Linked DNA regions of Homo sapiens: regions 1 and 3 are each linked to region 2. The links are contacts of gene promoters, found by promoter capture Hi-C in blood cells and fetal thymus (Javierre and others, 2016). All regions are on one chromosome and are shown on one strand. The core of a region is centred on a gene start or on the middle of the fragment in contact, and the rest is flanking DNA. Distances in the headings are between cores, read along the strand shown. Region 1 overlaps C9orf72 (C9orf72-SMCR8 complex subunit). Region 2 holds the start of NDUFB6 (NADH:ubiquinone oxidoreductase subunit B6). Region 3 overlaps CAAP1 (caspase activity and apoptosis inhibitor 1).

What was found. The method cuts DNA at HindIII sites, captures the fragments that hold promoters and counts their contacts. A CHiCAGO score of 5 or more calls a contact.
Region 1: a fragment that was not itself captured here is called in contact with the fragment with the promoter of NDUFB6 in region 2 in 1 of 17 cell types (non-activated CD4 T cells); the score reaches 6.4 in non-activated CD4 T cells.
Region 3: a contact is called between a fragment that was not itself captured here and the fragment with the promoter of NDUFB6 in region 2, in 1 of 17 cell types (total CD4 T cells). The highest score is 8.4, in total CD4 T cells.

Annotation. Positions count from the first base shown.
Region 1 is chr9:27,560,796-27,563,842 of GRCh38, forward strand. It overlaps C9orf72 (C9orf72-SMCR8 complex subunit), which reads right to left. Exons shown (of 11, transcript NM_018325.5): 4 at 1,586-1,681; 5 at 790-854. Among named protein-coding and RNA genes, the nearest start is that of C9orf72, 11 kb to the right of the region's middle. The HindIII fragment of the contact is 8,318 bases long and covers 1-3,047 here.
Region 2 is chr9:32,571,824-32,574,731 of GRCh38, forward strand. NDUFB6 (NADH:ubiquinone oxidoreductase subunit B6) reads right to left here and starts at 1,336. Exons shown (of 4, transcript NM_002493.5): 1 at 1,058-1,336. The coding sequence starts at 1,237. RefSeq lists enhancers at 884-1,423, 1,694-1,743. The HindIII fragment of the contact is 6,496 bases long and covers 196-2,908 here.
Region 3 is chr9:26,885,962-26,888,661 of GRCh38, forward strand. CAAP1 (caspase activity and apoptosis inhibitor 1) reads right to left here. Exons shown (of 6, transcript NM_024828.4): 2 at 1,352-1,552; 3 at 143-227. Among named protein-coding and RNA genes, the nearest start is that of CAAP1, 5.5 kb to the right of the region's middle. The HindIII fragment of the contact is 6,458 bases long and covers 1-2,700 here.

The DNA of each region.
Region 1 (3,047 bases), core at 238-2,737, 5.0 Mb before region 2:
TACTTCTCTTTTATTAAAAGTAAAATTTCATGAAAATCTGTAACTGTGAAGAAACTTTAAAACAGAATATAAGATAATACATGTAAAGCAACTAGTAAAGGAACTAACATGTAGGCACTCAACAAATACTGGCTATTTCTAGAAGAAATGTAAATAGGAAATGTTAGCTATGAGCTATTATTAAGTGTTTTTATGTTCCAGGCACTGTTCTAAGTGCTTTATATTATTTATCTTACTCAATGCTTATAACAACCCTACACATTAGGTACTATTACTATTATTGCCATTTTACAGATGAGGAAATAGGTGTATAGAGAATTCAGGCACCTTGCCCACGGGTACACAGCATTAATCCAGGGAGTCTGGTTTAAGGGCACAAACTCTTAAGTACTAAACTCCACTGCTGGATGGAAAAAGATCAGTATAAATATGAATAATTTTGTTCTACGCCTAAATAACTTAAGTTCATCTACAGTACAACTTAATATGAAAGGATTCTGTTAGCTTTAATGAGAAGTAAAACAAGAAACCAGAATCAAGCAAGGGGCCATGATTTCTTGTCTGGGATGGAAACTCGGTTTCTTTAAATAGCAAATGGAATAACACCAAATATATATAGAAATATAATGAGTGAAAAATAACACAAATTTAAGCAACAGTTCAAATACGTAATGTCCCTAGAACAATCTAAGTAGACAGTCTGTTATTTTCTTTCTTCCAAATCTTGTCATAGGTGAGCATAAGATGGTATCTGCTTCATCCAGCTTTTATGAAAAGAAAAATTCTTACTTGAGAAGAAAGCCTTCATGACAGCTGTCACCAATATCATCATCATTGAGTACTGTATCAGCTATCTAAAATGCATCAAAAAATAAAAAAATTAGTCTGGCTGTAACATAGTGTTGAAATAACACTTTTAATATACAAGTTTTCGGAAGTCTGGATTCAATATAACACACTGCCTTCATTTCCGAGAATCAAGACTCCCCAAAAAACAATCTCTGTGCACTACCATAAACTTCAGAAGAACAAATGTGAAAGCTGGTCAAGCAGGTTAAACAATTTTTACAAGAACAACTTCCTCTTCTGAGCTGTCAGAATCAGGAGACTAACCTAAATGACAAAATCAGAAAACAACAAGAATAGTTTCCTAAAGGTATCTCTTAACACTCATAGTGTGTGATTCAAAACGTCCTCAACAAATGATTAAGGAAACTAAATTTGTGACTACAAGTAAACTTCCATTAATGGTTACTACTTTGGCACACAGTTTTGTTTCAAAAGACACTACATTAAATATTAATTGCTCCTATAAGAGCTGGGATCCTCCCACTTTTAGGAATTATAAAAGTAATGAAATAAACAAAATGAATTTAATTTTGTCATCACTGATCAAAAATGCCTCTGTTTTGCCATAAAATCCAGGATTTTGTGTGTGCTTATTTGCTAAAGTGGCTAATACTGTATGTGAATAGTATGTATGACAAAGTCCTTACTATTAAAATTAGAATATTAATAATATACATAATAATACTATAACCCCAAAAAACTCATAAAGTGTATAATTGCTCTCATTTAAACTTACATCTATTTCTTCAGGAACACTGTGTGATTTCATAGATGAAAGCAGTTCCATTACAGGAATCACTTCTCCAGTAAGCATTGGAATAATACTCTGACCCTGCACAATAAAGTGACATGAAGTGAAGAAAATCACGTAATATGAGAGAAGCTGGGCAATAAAAAATAAAAATAACATCAAACAATAACATTCTTTGATGAAAATACTTCGTAATTTGTTCAAACACAGTATCAAACAAGTCTACTACATGTCTAAAGGATTTATATGCAATCCAAAGCTCACTTTTATTCTTTCTTTTCTTTTTTTTTTTTTGAGATGGAGTTTTGCTTTCATTGCTCAGGCTGGAGTGCAATGGCGTGATCTCAGCTCACTGCAACCTCTCCTCCCAGGTTCAAGTGACTCTCCTGTCTCATCCTCCCAAGTAGCTGGGACTATAGGTGCCGCCACCATGCCCGGCTGATTTTTGTATTTTTAGTAGAGACGGGGTTTCGCCATGTTGGCCAGGTTGGTGTCAAATTTCTGACCATGCCCGGCCCTAAAGCTCACTTTTATTCTTTAGAGAGTATGGAATCATTGGTTTATCGTTTACTGTTACATGCAATGATTAAGTCATCATGCCTCTTTTAGAAAAGATCTCCTTTAAAATTTGAGATAAAAAAAATTTGTTAAAGGTCATCAATATATTTCATATTTAAAAATGAGGAAAACCAAGCACAAAAAGACTTTGAAATCCTTACCAAATAGGTAAGGAAAACTTGAATCAATACCTAACCTCCATACTCATAAAAGTATAATCTACCCAAATGCAAATCAAAATCAGCACATATATTTTAAGAATCAATAAAACAGAAAAATTCCCTTTAGAGCTATTTCAAGATATTACTACTTATTACATCTTGAAATTGTAATTTTGAAATTTGTAGTCTATAGAATCAAACTGAAAATTCAGTATAACACATCACAAATGTAAAGTGTCTCAAATATGGATGGTCCCTCATTTATTCACTACCACCACCAGTCTCATCAGTTTTGTGACCAACTTGGTTAAGTAAATTTTTTGAGATATAAATGAAATTGTCAAATGACTATGCATTTTTAGCTAAACATATTTTTTAAATCATACATTATTTAAGATGAATTTAATACTAGTTGTTTTTCCTCACTTATTTTATGAAATGATTTTACTCAAAGTCTTCATAAGCATCTTTAAGTTAGAATCTTTGTCAGACCCAGGGCCATTTTTGGAGTAACCTTAACCAGTTTTTCAGAGCCCCATATTATTAAGTTGCTTGAGAATTTAAATGTGATGCTACTTCTGGAAGTTTTATCCTAAGCCATATGCCCATTTGCATAATGCTGAAAGTTTTATTTAAAAAAAAACCATCCTTTAGTAACCTCCACAACTAACTATTCACTGTTTTTAGTTTTTAAAGTAATAATTATCATGCCTGTTTACAATTACAAT
Region 2 (2,908 bases), core at 86-2,585:
ATGTCAGGGATACAAAGGGTGGGAGAAGAGTTGAATTTTACCACCATAAATAAGTATCCAATATCACTTTCTCAGAAAAATTTTCAACAATTCTATTGCACTAGACTTTGTAGCACAGTAAGAATCAGATACATGTTGATTACAATATGAACTCATATTCAATTCCTAGCTCCCTGACCACCAGCAAATCACTGAAGCTTTGTAGGCCTCAGTTTCTTCACATTTAAAATGAGGATTAGGAATATCTACCTTACAGGAATAAAGAAATGAAGTAACACATGTAAAACCCCCAGTAGAGTGCCAAGCACACAGCAAGCACCCGTGTGTTACGTAGTATTGTTACTACTATTATCCTGTCATCAGTAAGTGTTGCAGGTAACTGAAAGCAATTCTGAGATGTTTATCATCCATAACAGTCCTCAAGAAAATACCCAGAGGCCTTGAAAATAAAGTTCTTGAATGAGTGATTTTCTTCAAAGCCCAAAATGCGATTTTTTTAATGAAACACTGTGTTAAAAGTACAGAACGGTAGTTTAGAAAGGTAGCTCTTGAATGTGACTCACAAGGCATACCAACAGGACCCTGTCTTTTACGGGGATCACATGGGGCTGTACTATCAGCTAGGGGCTGGCTGTGCCCTCTGGTGGTTGGATACTGTGTTACTTGGTCTCTAGAACCTCACACTTAAAAGTCAGACAAGTGTCCTCAAATACTTAAATCACAGAATTTTAATTCTAGCGAGTCCTTGGTTATTATTCTGAGGGAAGATTTCTACAGTCAAAAGAGAACCAAACGTGCAGCGTCCTGGAAAACCTAAGTATTAAAATTCGCCCCCGTCCACTGTACTTGACAGTAAAAGGCATGATTCTCTCAAAGCCATACATATTCCTGGACTCCTGCCTCCCGAGACTCCAGGAGGACTCTCGGGACTGGCCAGTGTCCCAGAGCACTGAGCGTTATCAGTCCTTGGTGTGGCTGCAGGGAGCGGACGTTCAGTGTTCAGGCTGCCGGCAGCAGTGGGATGTGTTGGGGGGGACCGGAGAGGTCTGTCACTCACCATTTTCCTCCAAGGGGATTTATTCTCCAAAAATTTATTCCAGAATTTCTCCATAGGCCCCATCTTCTGTGGGGGCAGCACCGGCTCCCGAGGGCTCAGCTCCTGGTCCTTCAGCCATCGCCTTCTCAGCTCTCGCAGCTGCTGCAGCCGCAGTTTCTCATCCGGAGTGTACCCCGTCATGTCGCCGCTGGTACCAACGCAAAAGGACACGGCGCACCCTCGAACTACGGACTAGTTACTTAAGCGCGCTCCCGCTCTGCAAAGCGACCTTGCGGGAACGCCGAGCGCCGCGCGCGGTTATTACGTCACATCCTGGTTCCGCCTCTGCAAGGGCCCCAGATTCCTCGCGAGGAAAGCAGTGTGTGGGCATGCACAAAGGTCTCCACCTCCAGTTCTCTCTACGCCCACCTCCGCTATACCCGACCAAATTAGGACCGGGTGGGGACAAGGAGTACTCGTAGTTGTGGGGCCTGAGGAAAGTGACAGATTAGACGAAAGTATGCTAAATTAGAGGACTGGAGGTTTTGCTAAGGAAGAACTTGTATGCTGGGAGGAGGAAGGATAAGCATAAATGTTTCAGTGAATATGCTGGCCAGATTCAAAATTATTTGCTTGCCTCTCCCACCTTGGAATGACCTAGAGAGTGTATGAAAATAGTTACATCCCAGTTCAAATCCCAGCTATGCCAGTAACTGCTGAAGTGCCCTGGGCAGCTGTCTCATCTGTCCCTCCATCTGTACAGGAATAGTGAAAAGAGTAGCTTAATATCTAGCAAAATTGCATAGATGAATTCATGCTTTCACCCAAAAATACGTGTGGTGAAAATATGAAAGAGCATGCACGACTATTCAGCACGATTCATAATACCAAAATATTGGAAATTACCCCCAAATTCCTAAATAAAGGACTGCTTGAATAAATTGTAGTACAACAGTCAAAAGACAGCATTACAACGAATTAGTTTAAAAATCTTAATTGACTCTTATTCGTGATTCTAGAATCAAAAAACACCTCATTCTATAAAGTAGAATGAGTGTTCTGATCAGCTGAGCAGAGGCGGTTGGTTTTATTGGCAAATAGGGGCTGAAGAAAGCAGAAACCGAACAAAAAGTGGACTCATCGTTTCAAAGTTACTTTTAGGGTTAAAGCAGAAGAAACTTCCTTGTTTCACTGACTCAGACTTAAGGGAATTTCCTATTTTTTGGGAAACTGGCCCATTTCAAAGTTCAGTTTGATTGTGTGGTACTTAGCACAAACGACTCCATTCTGGTTTGGTCTGGTCTGCTGGGGCCTAGTGCGTGAAGCTAGTCCAAAACAGTGGCTTCCCAAAAACTTTCACACAACAAAGCAATGAAATGCTAATACAATCGTCAAAAGTAATAAGGAAGAACTCTATATACATCTGTGGTGTGATCTCCAGAATACATTACAAAGTGGAAAAAAAATGGATAGGAATTTGTACAGTATGCTTTTACCCAAAAAGAGAAAGATGGTGGTAATTTCAATATATATACATATTTTCTTAAATTTTCAAAATAATGGGAATGAAAACAATTGAGGTTTTTAAAGATGCTACCTATGGTGGAGGAAATAAATAGGATAGAGGAGACAGGGATAGAATCTAGACATCTCTGGAAACATCTTACTTCATAAATTTGACTTTAGAACCAAGTAAATATTTCATATTGTGAAATTAAATTTAGCTTAAAGATGTCTCCGTATTTTGAGTCCTTATATAATGAACTGCAACCCAACTTAGTATGCAATTTAACTCACAGCCTAACTTAGGAATATACTTCTGTAACAAATAACTGAGTCTCAGCCAATCATCACAGGTGGTCAACTGATCAG
Region 3 (2,700 bases), core at 150-2,649, 5.7 Mb before region 2:
TGCAAATAGAAGTAAAAATACTCTTCAACAACAACCCAATAATGAAATTAAATATCCAAGTAGGAGAAAGAATACCTCAGGATTTATGCTGAATATAGTATTAACTAAGAAGTTGCCAGAATGTAAAAATATGTATTCTTACCCTCAAGAATCTTCAAAATTTTTTTTTCAGACAGGAGCTCTAACTGTTCCTGGCATAGTTTTTTAATTTCTTCTATTGAACAGTTCTAAAGGAAATGACATTTTAAAAAAATGCATTTATGTAACACAGCCCCAATGTAAACTGGAAAATTTCAATCATAAAAATTTAAGTTAGCAAAATCTTACAATAAAATAAATTAAAGCCTCAAGTAGATTCACATACATCTTTTCCTGGGATGAAATCTGAAAAACTGCCAGTTAATATGTGAACACTGCATATTTGAAGGGAATGCATAAACTTGTATTTACTATCAAAGAAAAAAACTAAAGAGTGAGTCAGTTTCCCAGCTATTCTTAAGCAGTCTATTTATGTTAAGTAATTATTCTAAAGGTTTAAATATTCAAGTCTTGTATCTTTAGATATATGATCTCAGGCTTAACTTTAGTGACCAAGGCCAATTTCTACAACTGTAAAATTAAAACAACAAATATTTCCCTAAATAATTTTCAAAAATAAATAAAAATACTTGTGAATCTAATGAAATATAAGCTATTATTAACCATTGCTGTTTGTTGTTACACAGCAGCATATTGTGACATTATTTCTTAAAGCACCATAAAGATTGTATGTCCAATTTAGTTACTATCATTCCCTGCATTTAACAGAATTATCTCCACAGAGTCAACACATTTCTTGCCTAAACATTTCTTCGTGGCAAATTTTTAAATATACAAGGCTCCAAGAACCAAATATATTATGGTTCTCTATTTTACAAAATCTTTTCAAGTAGCTTATTTTAGATGTAAACATCCAATTAAAAACTGCATTAACGCCAGGCACGGTGGCTCACACCTGTAATTCCAACACCTTGGGAGGCCAAGGTGGGCAGATCACGAGGTCAGGAGTTCGAGACCAGCCTGGCCAACACGGTGAAACCCCGTCTCTTAAAAATCCAAAAATTAGCCGGGCATGGTGGTTCATGCCTGTAGTCCCAGCTACTCAGGAGGCTGAGGCAAGAGAATTGCTTGAACCCGGGAGGCGGAGGTTGCAGTGAGCCAAGATCACGCCACCACACTCCAGCCTGGGCGACAGAGCAAGACTCCGTCTCAAAAAAACAAACAAACAAAACCGCATTAAGTAAAACAAAAAATTGCTACAAAGAAGGCTGTATTTCTACATATGTATCTAGTCTGATGTGTAATGAAGTACCTTTAACACATCAGGAAGCATCTTCTGTAACTTTTTCTCTCCTATAATACAGAAGCACTGCTGAAGCATTTCTTTTTTGTCTGATATATAGAAACTAACTGGTTTCAATGACACAGTCAGGTCCAGTCCACCTTCTTCAAGGTCACTGTGCTCTGCCAAGAATAATTCTTTTTCCAAAGTTGGCAAAATATATTTAGTTTCCTAAAGTTAAAAGAATAAAGAACCATTAAACAATACTACTTAAAATATAAAGAATACGTACATGACATCATACGTTTTCATTTAATAAATTCTTCTTCATCAAAAATTCCCAAATTCTTTGCATAATTATTTATCAAAACCATAGGAGAGAATATCTGTTTAATATTACTTGATTTTTCTCTCCACACTGCAATTAACTCAAGGAGTAGCTATAAGGGAAGAGATATTTAGGATACACAAACAAAAGTATAGTAAATATTGAATAATTTCTTAAAATTTTAGACTTTTGAAGAATTAGGATTTTCCCCTAAAAGGCCATTCACCCAAAAGCTCTATGTATGCATTATCACTGTACTTAAATTCATATAAATAAATTGAAGTAAAGATGTTACAAATCACAAATATTATACAGAAAAGTAACATACGTACCAGGAGCTATCATCATTTTTAAAACTTTATAATCATAATCAAAGTAACCAAGTAATTTCAGTAATTTAAGATATTTCTGTCCATTTTACTTTCTGTCTCCCAACTCTATCCAGTCTCTCCAAATCTACTGCCATAATTCTGTTCCAAACTACCACAATTTTTTGCCTGGGTTACACCAATAGCCATTTAATGGGACTCCCTGCATCTAATCTGAGGTCTCTTTGTTTTGTACACTGTTAGCAGAATGGATTTTATAAAATGTATACGTACTCATCCTTCTTGTTTAAAACTCTTCAATGAATTCCCATTGCTCCTAAGGTAATATGGCCTACCTGGCCTTCATGCTCATTCTTTGTGTTTAGGACACAATCTTCTTTGAATTACTCGACTGTAACCTATTCTCCTTCCTTCAGCTCATAGAAGCAGGGCTTTTGCATACCATTTTCCTATGACAGTCTTTCCTCCCTCCTTTATCTATCACACTATATTCACAAGATTAACAAATTCAGATACTTCAGACAATTCAACAGTCATTTCCTCTGGAAAATCTTCCCTGACCACAGAGGTCAGATAGTTGTTTACAAAGCAGTTTTAAAATGGGTCAGTTTTAATGAACACTATGATAATTAGACTGAAAAAGTAAAAGAATCAGCACTTGTTCTAACAGTTTACAATGTAATAATGTAGAGAAACTGGAATCCTCATACACTGTTAGCAGG